3 separate regions of the Homo sapiens genome follow, and regions 2 and 3 are each linked to region 1. Evidence: promoter capture Hi-C in 16 types of primary human blood cells and fetal thymus (Javierre and others, 2016). All regions are on one chromosome and are shown on one strand. Each heading gives the region's core, a stretch centred on a gene start or on the middle of the fragment in contact. The rest is flanking DNA. Distances are from core to core; before and after follow the strand shown. Region 1 holds the start of LPCAT2 (lysophosphatidylcholine acyltransferase 2). Region 2 overlaps CHD9 (chromodomain helicase DNA binding protein 9). Region 3 holds the start of LOC124903690 (a long non-coding RNA gene).

Region 1 (3,497 bases), core at 453-2,952:
TTTCAGAATGTGAAGACACAAAAAGAATATCTATTAATTTAAAGACATGAGGATCACATTTTTAAACGTTTAATTTCCTCACAAAGCAGTATTACTACATTCTTTATCTTCTTCCTCTCTCACACCCCTCTTCAACCAGACACCCATCTACCATTACTCAAGCCACCACCTGTGTTGTTTAGCTCTGCACTTAACCTTCCCCCACTGTAGAGGACAATGGTCTTAGTGCATACAAGCTGATTGCAAATATTATACTGCTTCAAATCCAAAGTAATGTGTGAGATGGACATGAAAACTTCAAAATTGTTCCCCCACCCCCCCAACCCCCGCAGAACACACGGACAAATGTGGTTAGCAGGGTCTATCTTGTTCTCTGATCACTAACTTCAACAAAGAGGAAGTCCAAAGAGTGCAACTGCCAATGGTAAAAGGAACCCTTTACAAGAAAAAGGAAAGGAAAGGAAACTTCCTTTGTGCATAACAGTATAGCCATTTTTAACAATGGAAAACAGCCTGGGCTACTACTTCTCATGCTTCAACTTAGGAAACGTTTTTAGGTGAAGACTGATTCTGGACCAAAACTTCTTGAACATCCTAAGCTGACTCAGTTGTCCCTTTTCTTTGATTCTGACTTCCCACCCTCCATCATGCTCCTGCTCAGCTAAATCTTTCCAGCCTTACCTGTTGTTCTAACCACAGACCTAGGCTCTCTGCCTTCTGCCTCACTCTTATCCATCCCATACTGACTCCTCTCCTTCCTAAGGCAAAAAAAAAAAAAAAAAGACTTCTTCAAATCTACTCTCCCGTAGTAGATCTGCCTCCCACTACACTCTCATAAACTCAAGTTGAAGCTTCTGTCACAGATTCACAGATTCCTTCAACCTTCTGGGGCATGGAATGTAGCCTGCGCCACCAGCCAGCTCAGTCTCTTCCTGTTTTGGATTCTCCTCTCAGGCCCGCATCTTCCCAGCATCTTCTCTCCTCCCGTGCCCGCTCAGACCATCCTCTAAATGTCCTCAATTCTCAGACACACATCTCCGCCCCTTTCAGGCTCACGGCCCCTCAGAAGTCCTCTCCTCTCAGATCCACTGCTCTTTCTTCCTCTGATGCCTTTGCTTCCCAGACCCACAACGCCCCTCAGACCCACGCGCCCCTCGACCGCCCTCCCCCGTCAGACCTACACCAGTCACCTGGACCCGCCCCAGACCCTGGCTCCCCTCGGGCCACCTCCCTCCTCAGACCCATGCCCCCTTCAGGCCACCTCCCTCCTCAGACTCTCGCCCGCCTCGGACCACCTCACTCCCTCAGACCCACGCCCCCCTCGGCCGCCCTCCTCTCTCAGACCCACACCCCTTACCTGGACCCCCCTCTGACCTAGGCCCCCCTCAGACCACCTCTCCCCTCAGACCCACGCCCCTCACCTGGACCCGCCTCGCGGAGCCGATCTGCGTCTGCTGCACGAAGGGGTTCGGCACCGGCGGCGGGAAGAAGGACGCCTGACGGGGCACCATGGGCGGCCGCAGCCCCACGTTCCCGACGCCGGCACCTGGCACTGTGGCCGCCACTTCCGCCGCCTGGGCGCACCGGCTCATAGTTGAGCCGGGCGTAGAACCCGGCCGAAGCGATCTACGCGGGCGCTGCAGCCAAAACTGAGCCGAAGACCTACTAGAGTCCCAGCCTAGGGCGACGCTGGGGAGCCTCTGCGCAGGCGCTGAAGTTACTTAGACGCCTGCTGCTGCCGCCCTGCCCCTTCGGCTGTGACACGCCCCAGGCTCTGGCCACACCCCCTCAGGCATCTGGCTCCACCCCCTTGGTAATATAGTCCATCCCCTCGGAGGGGAATGTTTTCCTTCCGAGCCAAGACCCTGAAGGGTACCCCAGGATCCCTAACATTCCACAGCGAGACACTAGGCAGAGTTCCCTGCTTTAGGGTCGGACGGACCTGGATTTTCAATCCCTTTTACTGGGCCTGTGACGCTGGCCAAATCACTATCTCTATGAACCTCGGTTGCCTTCCGTAAAATGCAGATAAATGTATTCTCAGATAATCCTAACCTGGATCCAGTAATGCCATTGAGCAACCACTTCCCCTGGGCTGTTCCATTAAGTGAGCTAATATTAATACACCCATGATGGCACTAGGAGTGGAATTTGTTTCACTCAAAACATAATGGACTGACAGGGGAGAGATGGTTCTCCAGAGGAAAACTGAGCTACTATTACCAGAAAAGGCAAAAATTACAGTTGCCCTCCACGCTAGATGAGGAACCTGACCCAGAAAAGGGAAATGTATTGGGCTGTGGCTCCCTTTCACACTGAGGAAGTTCAAGCCTGTTTGGACCTATGTGGGTGCTCGTGGGGGTGGGAGGGCAGGGGTTTGTCCCATTATCTGAGGACAGTTGATCAACCCTGAGTGGCTGAGAGTTAAAGGAAGGAGATGATAATCAACTCATCCCAACTGATCAACTCTTCTCACAGCAGGTAGGAAGGCCAGGATGAAAATCTGAGTCTGAGCCCTGGGGTTCTCCAAAGTTACCCTCTGAATGTCAGAATCTTCCAGCCCTACCACATAGATGTGTGGCCTTGAGTCAGTCACTTAACCTGAGTTTGCTTCCTTGTCTAGGAATGGGAGATTCATTCTAACTCCATAGAATTGTAGCAAGGATTAAATAAAATAATGCATGTGTAGTGTTCATAGAGAAACACTGAAGAAATGGCATGTTTTAAGCATTATTATGTTGTGGAGCCACTGACTTTTCTCTCAGTGTAACAGGGAACATTAATAACAGTGCATTACAGCCATGATAGAAGATTCCCCAGTCTAGGGGGTCTTCAAGTTGGGACTGGCAGACCCTTGAGACTCTTTAGCCAGATACCTGCACAGAAAGATGTCTTTCCAACTGTCAACAACCTAAGCCAGGCCAGGTGCAGTGGCTCACGCCTGTAATCCTAGCACTTTGGGGGCTGAGGAGGGTGGATCCCTTGAGCCCAGGAGTTCGAGACCAGCCTGGGCAACAAAGAGAGACTCCACCATCTCTAAAAAAAATTAAAAATTAGCTGGCTGTGCTGTTGCATGCCTGCAGTCCCAGCTACTCAGGAGGCTGAAGTGGGAGGATTGCTTGAGCCCAGAAGATCAAGTCTGCAGTGAGCTATGATCATGCCATTGCACTCCAGCCTGGGTGACAGAGAAAGACACTGTCTCAAAAAAGAAAAAAAAAGAAGAAGAAGAAACAAAAAGAATCTGAGTCAAGGGGACAGGCCATGGGAGGATAAAAGATAGAAAAGATGGGGCCGAGAGTGGTGGCTCACACCAATAATCCTAGCACTTTGGGAGGCCGAGATGGGTGGATTGCCTGATCTCAGGAGTTCGAGACCAGCCTGGGCAACACGGTGATACCTGTCTCTACCAAAATACAAAACAAATTAGCTGGGTATGGTGGCGTGCACCTGTAATCCCAGCTACTTGGGAGGCTGAGGCAGGAGAATCACTTAAACCT
Region 2 (3,497 bases), core at 444-2,943, 2.4 Mb after region 1:
TGTGTTGGGTATTGGCGACCCAAAGTTGAATAAGACAGTGACGTGGTCCTAACTGGGAAAGGCTTTGCAAGCATTCTGTGCTTCATTAAATCCTTACGTCTTGGCTGGGCATAGTGGCTCATGCTGGTAATCTCAACACTTTGGGAGGCTGAGGTGGGAGGATCGCTTGAGCCCAGGAAGTTGAGGCTGCAGTGACCCATGATTGTGCCACTGAACTCAATCCAGCCTGAGTTTTAGAGACCCTATCTCTAAAAAAAAAAAAAAAAAATCTTCACAGTCCCCTTGCAGGATGACCCCCACTGCTCCACCAACTGACCACTGTAAACCATATTTGGAAAGGCAATAACCATGAAGAGATCACAATGAGATGTCACTTAATACCCTTTCAGTTGGAAAAAATTAAGAAGCTTGATAATACCAAATTGTTGGAAAGAACACAGATCAATTGGATATTTATATGTTTGTTGTTACTGGGATTGTAAATTGATAAATTCACATTGTTTCCCTGGAGACACAGACAAAAATGATCAGCTTAGCGTGTTCAAAGTCATGGAAAGCTGGTAACAACCCAAATGTCCACTAACAGGAGATTCAGTAAATTCCCATGGAACATACTAGGGAGAACTGCAATAGAGCAGGGACAACAAGTGGACCGTAGCTGAATGCTACGCTATGGGTGAGTTTTAGCCACATAATATTATGAGAAAAAAGTATACCCAAGAAAGCTGCATATAGCAGGATATTCTTTTTTGTTTTAATTTTAATTTTTTTTTTTAGAGACAGGGTCTTGCTCTGTTGCCCAAGTTGGAGTGCAGTGGCACTATCATGGCTCACTGCAGCCTCAATCTCCTGGGCTCAAGCAATCCTCCTGCCTCAGCCTCCCAAGTAGCTGGGACTACAGGCACACACCACCACGCCCAGCTACATTTTAAAAATTTTTTTGTAGAGACAGGGTCTTGCTGTGTTGCCCAGGCTGGTCTTGAACTCCTGGCTTCAAGTGATCCTCCTGCCTCCCCCTCCCAAAGTGCTGATATTATAGGTATGAACCACTGCGCCTAGCCAGGATATTCCTTTACACAAGAAAAAACAACAAATCTAAACAATATGGCTTTTAGAAAAATATTTGAAAAAGCATTAGTTTTTAGAGGAGCAAAGGAATGATGAACTCAATATTCAGAATAGGGTGGGGAAGGCAAAGTAATAGGAAGGGAGGACACAGGGGAAGAACGTGCAGTGGAGTGACTGTATTATAAGGAAATACACAAACAGATAAATAACAAATTACCAGATGCAGGTTGCACAAGGTCCAACTGAAGATGAAAGAATGTCATGAGTCAAATATTGTGAATAACCCTAAGCACTTAAATTCAGTAAAAAGGAAAACAAGGCCGGGCGCGGTGGCTCACGCCTGTAATCCCAGCACTTTGGGAGACTGAGGCGGGCAGATCACCTGAGGTCAGGAGTTCAAAACCAACCTGACCAACGTGGCGAAACCCTGTATCTACTAAAAATACAAAATTAGTGGGGTGTGGTGGTGCATGCCTGTAATTCCAGCTACTCAGGAGGCTGGGGGAGGAGAATCACTTGAACCCGGGAGGCAGAGGTTTCAGTGAGCCAAGATCACACCATTGCACTCCAGCCTGGGCGACAGAGGAAGACTCCATCTCAAAAAAAAAAAAAAAAGAAAAAGTAAACAAAAGCCTGCTCTTGGGACTGGTATGAAGTACCCATAAGGAAGGGTGTTGAGAGACGGGAAATAAAGCAGGGTGTGTGTGTGTTTCCAGGAGGATTAGGCAGAGGTGACACTATCAGTTATGCACTGCTGTTGCAGGTTCAGAATTGTCACCTGGGGTCACCGGGTACGGGTGAGTTTTCACTGTGACGGGGCTGGGAAACACCCCGGCCCAGCCATGTTCAGTCACTGGTCTCTCTGTGCGGTGGCTGGCCCTTGGTGTCCTCTCCCTGGGTCTTTGCCAGGCCTGCCCCTGCCACCTGCCCCGGTACAGACTTCCAGTTCCTGTGTTCTCAGACAGGATCAGCCCTGCCCCGCCCAGCCCAGACTAGGCGGATGCTGGGTGTATATAGGAAATCTTGCACAGCAGGAGTTCCAGGCACACTACCAGAAACCATGCAGTTTGGTCACCAAGCCCATAGGCCTAGACACCTTCTCTCCTGCTCTGCGGGGAACCCAAGGGGAAGTGCTCTCAGACAGCTGAGCTGCCACAGCAGAGCTGCCTGCTGTCACAGCCAGGCCCCACTGGCCATGTGCTGAAGCAAGCACTTTTTCCTTAAGATAAAGTCTCCTCCAGGCCCCCAAGGCTGACACCGGGCAGAGGCACACATTGTTAGGCCCAGTCATTGACAGACTTCATGGACAGAACTAACTGGGACACTCGCAATCGAACCAAAGCCAGTCCCTGGTTCTCTTTTGTGCTTCTGCTGGTGGGTCAGAGCTCTCAAGGCTCTGAGAGCTGCTTCCATGCCCCTCACCCCAAAACAATCATCAGTGTCCATCATGAGAGAGCACAGAAACGAGCCAGGAGGACCCTAGATCAAGTTGTACCTGGCCACTTTCTAGCTATCTCTGTTAGCTTAATTCTCTAAGCCTCAGCTTTCTATCTGTACAATGCGGACAATCATACCGCCTTTGCCTGATTGAAAGGCATTAGTGAGAACAACATGACACAATGGGGAAGAAAGTGCTTATCAAACAGAAAGGTGTGGTACATTTGTACTAGAATGTAAGCCCCTAGAAGGCAGGAACCTTGTATGACTCCTTCACTGCCCTACTCTCAGGGTCAAGGACAATGCCTGGCACATAGCAGGTGCTCAATAAATAGTTCTTGAATGAGCGAATTGGGTTATGACAGATTAGAGTAAAAATAATGATGATGATGATAATCCCTAACATTAATTGCATCTTGGCTATGTGCCACGCATAGTGCTTAGGGCTGTAATAGATAATCCCATCTAAGCTTTACAACAACCCAATAAATGGGGGTACTATTGTTATTCACATTCTGCAGATGAGTTAATGCGATTCAGAGAAGTCAGTGATTTTCCTAAGGCCACATAGCTAGCTGAATAGGTTGTGACCAAAGTGATATGAATTTGCAGATTCAGAGAGGCTCACCACCTAAAAATGGAACATAGGGGTGGCCCTAGTGCCTGAGAGGCAATGATGAGAGTCACTGAATTTTGATATCTTTCTCACTCTTCAAGAATCCAATATTAAAGTGCAGATGCAGCAGGGCATAATGGCTCATGCCTGTAATCCCAACACTTTGGGAGGCAAAGGCAGGAGGATGGCTTGCGCTCAGGAGTTTGAGACCAGCCCTGGCGACATAGTGAGACCCCATTTTTACAAAGAATGCAAAAATTAGCTGGGTGTGGTGGTGCACGCCTGTAGTCCCAGCTATTCGAGAGGCTGAAATGGGAGGATCACTTAAGGTTGAGAGATTGAGGCTGCAGGGAGCCTTGGTCACACCACTGCACTC
Region 3 (3,497 bases), core at 330-2,829, 2.0 Mb after region 1:
CATCCTGATTTTCATAATGAGTTGCTTTCTTGGTGCAGACCTGTGGGCGTGCAGGTAGGTGTTTCAAATGTACTTTTGTTTCTTCTGTCCTTCATTTGGCAAATATTTATTGCATGCCTACAACATCTAGCTCTTGGGTGCCGGGGAGACAATAGAAAGCAAAAAAATGGTTCCTCCTCAGGAGCTTACAGTGTGGGAGACAGACACTAATAATCTCCCAAATCAACAGCAAATTGCCCCCAAGGAAGTAGTGTTAGAGCTGAGATCTGTGTAGGGGATTGAAGAGAATGAACTGGGCAAAGGGAACGTTCACTGCGAAGGCCCCTTTTGTGGCAGGGCAGGTAGGGGAGCAACTCCCTTCCAAGGAACTGGAAGAATGTCAGAGTGGCTGGAGTCTGCAGCCACCTGGGGCTGGGACACAGCCATGGTGAGGAGTTTGGTCTTTGCCCAATGGGGAACCACTGAAGGGCTTAAATTCCTCAAGAAAATGGAGGTTCTGTCAGCAATGAAAAAGGGAGAAGTGGGTATTAGGTATACAGGCAATAGTGCTTACAGAAACACCCCAAACATACCTACCCAAAACACAACCCAGATTTTCCCATTTCCCACTGTCCCAAACCTGCTTGTGGTTCACTGTTTGTCACCTCAGTGAATGGCCTCACCATCCATCCTGTAGCTCATGCTAAAAATCTAGGTGTCAGCCATATCTGCCTCTTCATCCCCCATACCTAGTCCATGGCCAAGCTCTGTCCACCCCACCTGTATGAATCCATCAGTGTTGCTATAAAGGAATACCTGAGGCTGGGTCATTTATTTTTAAAAAGAGGTTTATTCAGCTCATTGTCCACTTCCTTGGGGCAATTAGCCATTGATTTGGGAGATGACTTGATTAGCATCTATCTCCCGTAGCTCCATGAGGAGGAACAATGTCTGTTTTGTTCTCCAACGCCTCCCCAGCATTTAAAGCCTAGATGTCATTAAGCATGCAATAAATATATGTCAAATGAAAGACAGAGGCAACTAAGTATAAGAAGCATGGCACCAGCATCTTCTGGTGAGGACCTCAGGAAGCTTCCATTCATGGCAGAGGGAGAGGCCAGCAGGAATCATTTGGCAAGAGAGAGAGCAGTGGTCAGGGGAGGAGAAGGTGACAGGCTCTTTTTGACAATCAATTCTCTCGGGAACTAATAGAACTCACTCACTACTGCCAAGAACTCACTACTGCCAGGACAGCACCAAGCCTTTCATGAGGGATCAGCCTCCATGACCCAAATACTCCCACCAGGCCCCACTTTCAACATTGGGGGTCACATTTCAATATGAGGTTTGGAAGGGTCAAACCATATCCAAACTATATCATCCCGTCTTAAACATCTCTGGAACTCATTCAATTCTCCATCTCTACCTTCAAATTCATGCGATTCTCTGTTGCCTGAACTACTGCCATGGTTCCTCAACTGCCCCGTGAGCCTTGTGCCCCTACAATCTGTTTTCCGCACAAAGTGATGTTTTCAAAATACAAATCTGATCATGGCTCTCCTCTGCCTAAAGTCCAGGCAGAGATCTAGGGAAAATCTCAGCCCAAGTCGATCATGGCGGACTCCTTCCACTTGCCGTTGACTGGGTTTCGTTGTGGCCAGAGACTTACTTCTGGCCATTGAAACCTGCAGGCATTTCTTCTGCGGAGCTTCTGGGAAAGGTAGTCATGTATTTCAAAAGGGACCACTGGAAGAAAGGGATACTTTTAATTTTGTGAGATCCTGGGTGTGCCGCGGCCATCTTGCTACCAGCCTGAAAGTGCAATTCCAGGGACTGCAAGGAAAGCAGAGCCTGAAGACCAGGGCACCACCTCTGGAGACAATCCTCCCATGGGAGAGAAATCCCCTTGCTAAGTAAGCCGGTTTGAGTTGGCTTTCCTGCCATGTGCAGTCTGATGCTGGTGTGCGTCTGAGTCATCCGGTGCCAAGTACGCAGTTGATGACATGCATTGGAAGCTCAGTGGATAGATGTGAGCTGGAGAAATACCTATGTGGGTCCTCGGTGAAAACTGAAGGTTGGGGAAAGGAGGAAAGCAGAAAAAAAGCTTTGCAGAGGATAATGAGCTTCAAAGAAGATTGGGAGGAAATGGGCCACAGAGGTGCCAAAGGAGACCACCTGTGGCCTGAAAAAAGGATTTCCTGCTTGCCTGCCTTTCTGTATTAAGACTCGTATTAAAAGGCATGATAACATTCCTAAATGTGTCCTAAGGGGACAAAAGGAAGTGGCTCAGAAGTGTTTTCAGCTAGGGGAGGAAGCTGGGTTTCAGAACCAACCCTTGGGATTAACATCAGGAGAATTTGGCTTCCTGCCCTTTAATAAGTCACTTACCAGAATCTCAGAGGCAACCAAAAATGGACCAAACAACCCGGCCAGAGAATGCGGCTTCTGAGTGTAAGACACTGAGGCGGTGTCACAGACAGGTCAGTGCCTCTGGTGTCTAGAAAAGGGGCAGGGGCTTGCGGGGAGAGGGCTGTCGCGCAAGTGTGGAAGTGGAGTGCCGAGATTGGACGGACTAACCACGGGGAGGCACCGTTGGTAAGAACAGGCCTGGAAAGCAGCTGGCAGCAGTCACAGAATTAGGCCAGAGAGAGACCTCCATGGGAAAGCAGACGGGAGGTCCAAATGAGAGCGTGTGAATTAAAAAAAAAAAAAAAAAAAAAGACCAGGAACTATGTTGCTATGGGAGAGGTTCTCCAACTTCAGTGTGCGCCAGAATCAGCAGCGAACTGTGACAGATGTGGATTCCTGGTCCTCAGCCTCCCCCCTCCCCCCAGCCCCCGGCCCCCACTCGGATGCTGCAGGTCGGGGCCGACACACACAGATTTACAAAGCTCCTCTGGCTGCTCTAGTGCCCAGGGCCCACTTGGAGCTGAGCTCCCTTCAGCTCCAGCCTTCAGCTCCTGCACTGATGGAGAGAACGGGCGTTTCTTGATGCCACGCCAAGTGTCCTTCTGACCCCTGGTACCCTGTGGGCCCGACGTGGCGGCCTCGGGCCTCGCAGCGCCGCCCAACGCAGTAGGACCTAGCGATGGGAGCCACTGGGCAGTCGCGCGGCCCGGCCCTCCCCAAAAGCTTGGCTTGCAGACGTTAGCGTATGCCCCAGCCCCTGCGCATGGCGGTTGCGCTGTGGGCTGTGCGAATAAACCTCCGGGAAGGTCTCCGTGGTGACTGGCAGACGCCCTGGCCAATTGTGACCCGGCGCTTGTTTGTCTCTGCCCCATCCCTCCCCGGGGGGCCGATACTTCCATGACTGACAGGCCGTCCCAGGCGCTGTTACGTAAGGGGAGGGTCAAGTGCAGTCCCACCCAAACCGGGGTGATTTGATTTGCAGGACCGAGTGTGTTCTTCCCAACGCCCCCGGAAGAACGTCTTTGACGGGCAGGTGTGAGAGCCAGTTGGCGCCGGGAGGCCAGGCGGAAGCCTCGGGCCCCAGGATCGTGCAGCAGGGGGCGGAGCCC

Evidence for each region. Contacts are between HindIII fragments. The CHiCAGO score rates a contact against its expected background, and 5 or more counts as called.
Region 2: a fragment that was not itself captured here is called in contact with the fragment with the promoter of LPCAT2 in region 1 in 1 of 17 cell types (M0 macrophages); the score reaches 7.0 in M0 macrophages.
Region 3: a contact is called between a fragment that was not itself captured here and the fragment with the promoter of LPCAT2 in region 1, in 1 of 17 cell types (endothelial precursors). The highest score is 5.1, in endothelial precursors.

The regions. Positions count from the first base shown.
Region 1 is chr16:55,507,277-55,510,773 of GRCh38, reverse strand. It overlaps LPCAT2 (lysophosphatidylcholine acyltransferase 2), which reads right to left and starts at 1,702. Exons shown (of 14, transcript NM_017839.5): 1 at 1,422-1,702. The coding sequence starts at 1,592. The HindIII fragment of the contact is 4,685 bases long and covers 854-3,497 here.
Region 2 is chr16:53,092,828-53,096,324 of GRCh38, reverse strand. All of the region lies in intron 1 of CHD9 (chromodomain helicase DNA binding protein 9), which reads right to left. Among named protein-coding and RNA genes, the nearest start is that of CHD9, 40 kb to the right of the region's middle. The HindIII fragment of the contact is 2,568 bases long and covers 410-2,977 here.
Region 3 is chr16:53,503,291-53,506,787 of GRCh38, reverse strand. LOC124903690 (a long non-coding RNA gene) reads right to left here and starts at 2,408. Exons shown (of 2, transcript XR_007065069.1): 1 at 2,368-2,408; 2 at 810-2,047. It also overlaps a transcript of AKTIP not described here. RefSeq lists silencers at 2,412-2,501, 3,222-3,461, 3,482-3,497 and enhancers at 2,822-2,921, 3,382-3,497. The HindIII fragment of the contact is 1,012 bases long and covers 1,074-2,085 here.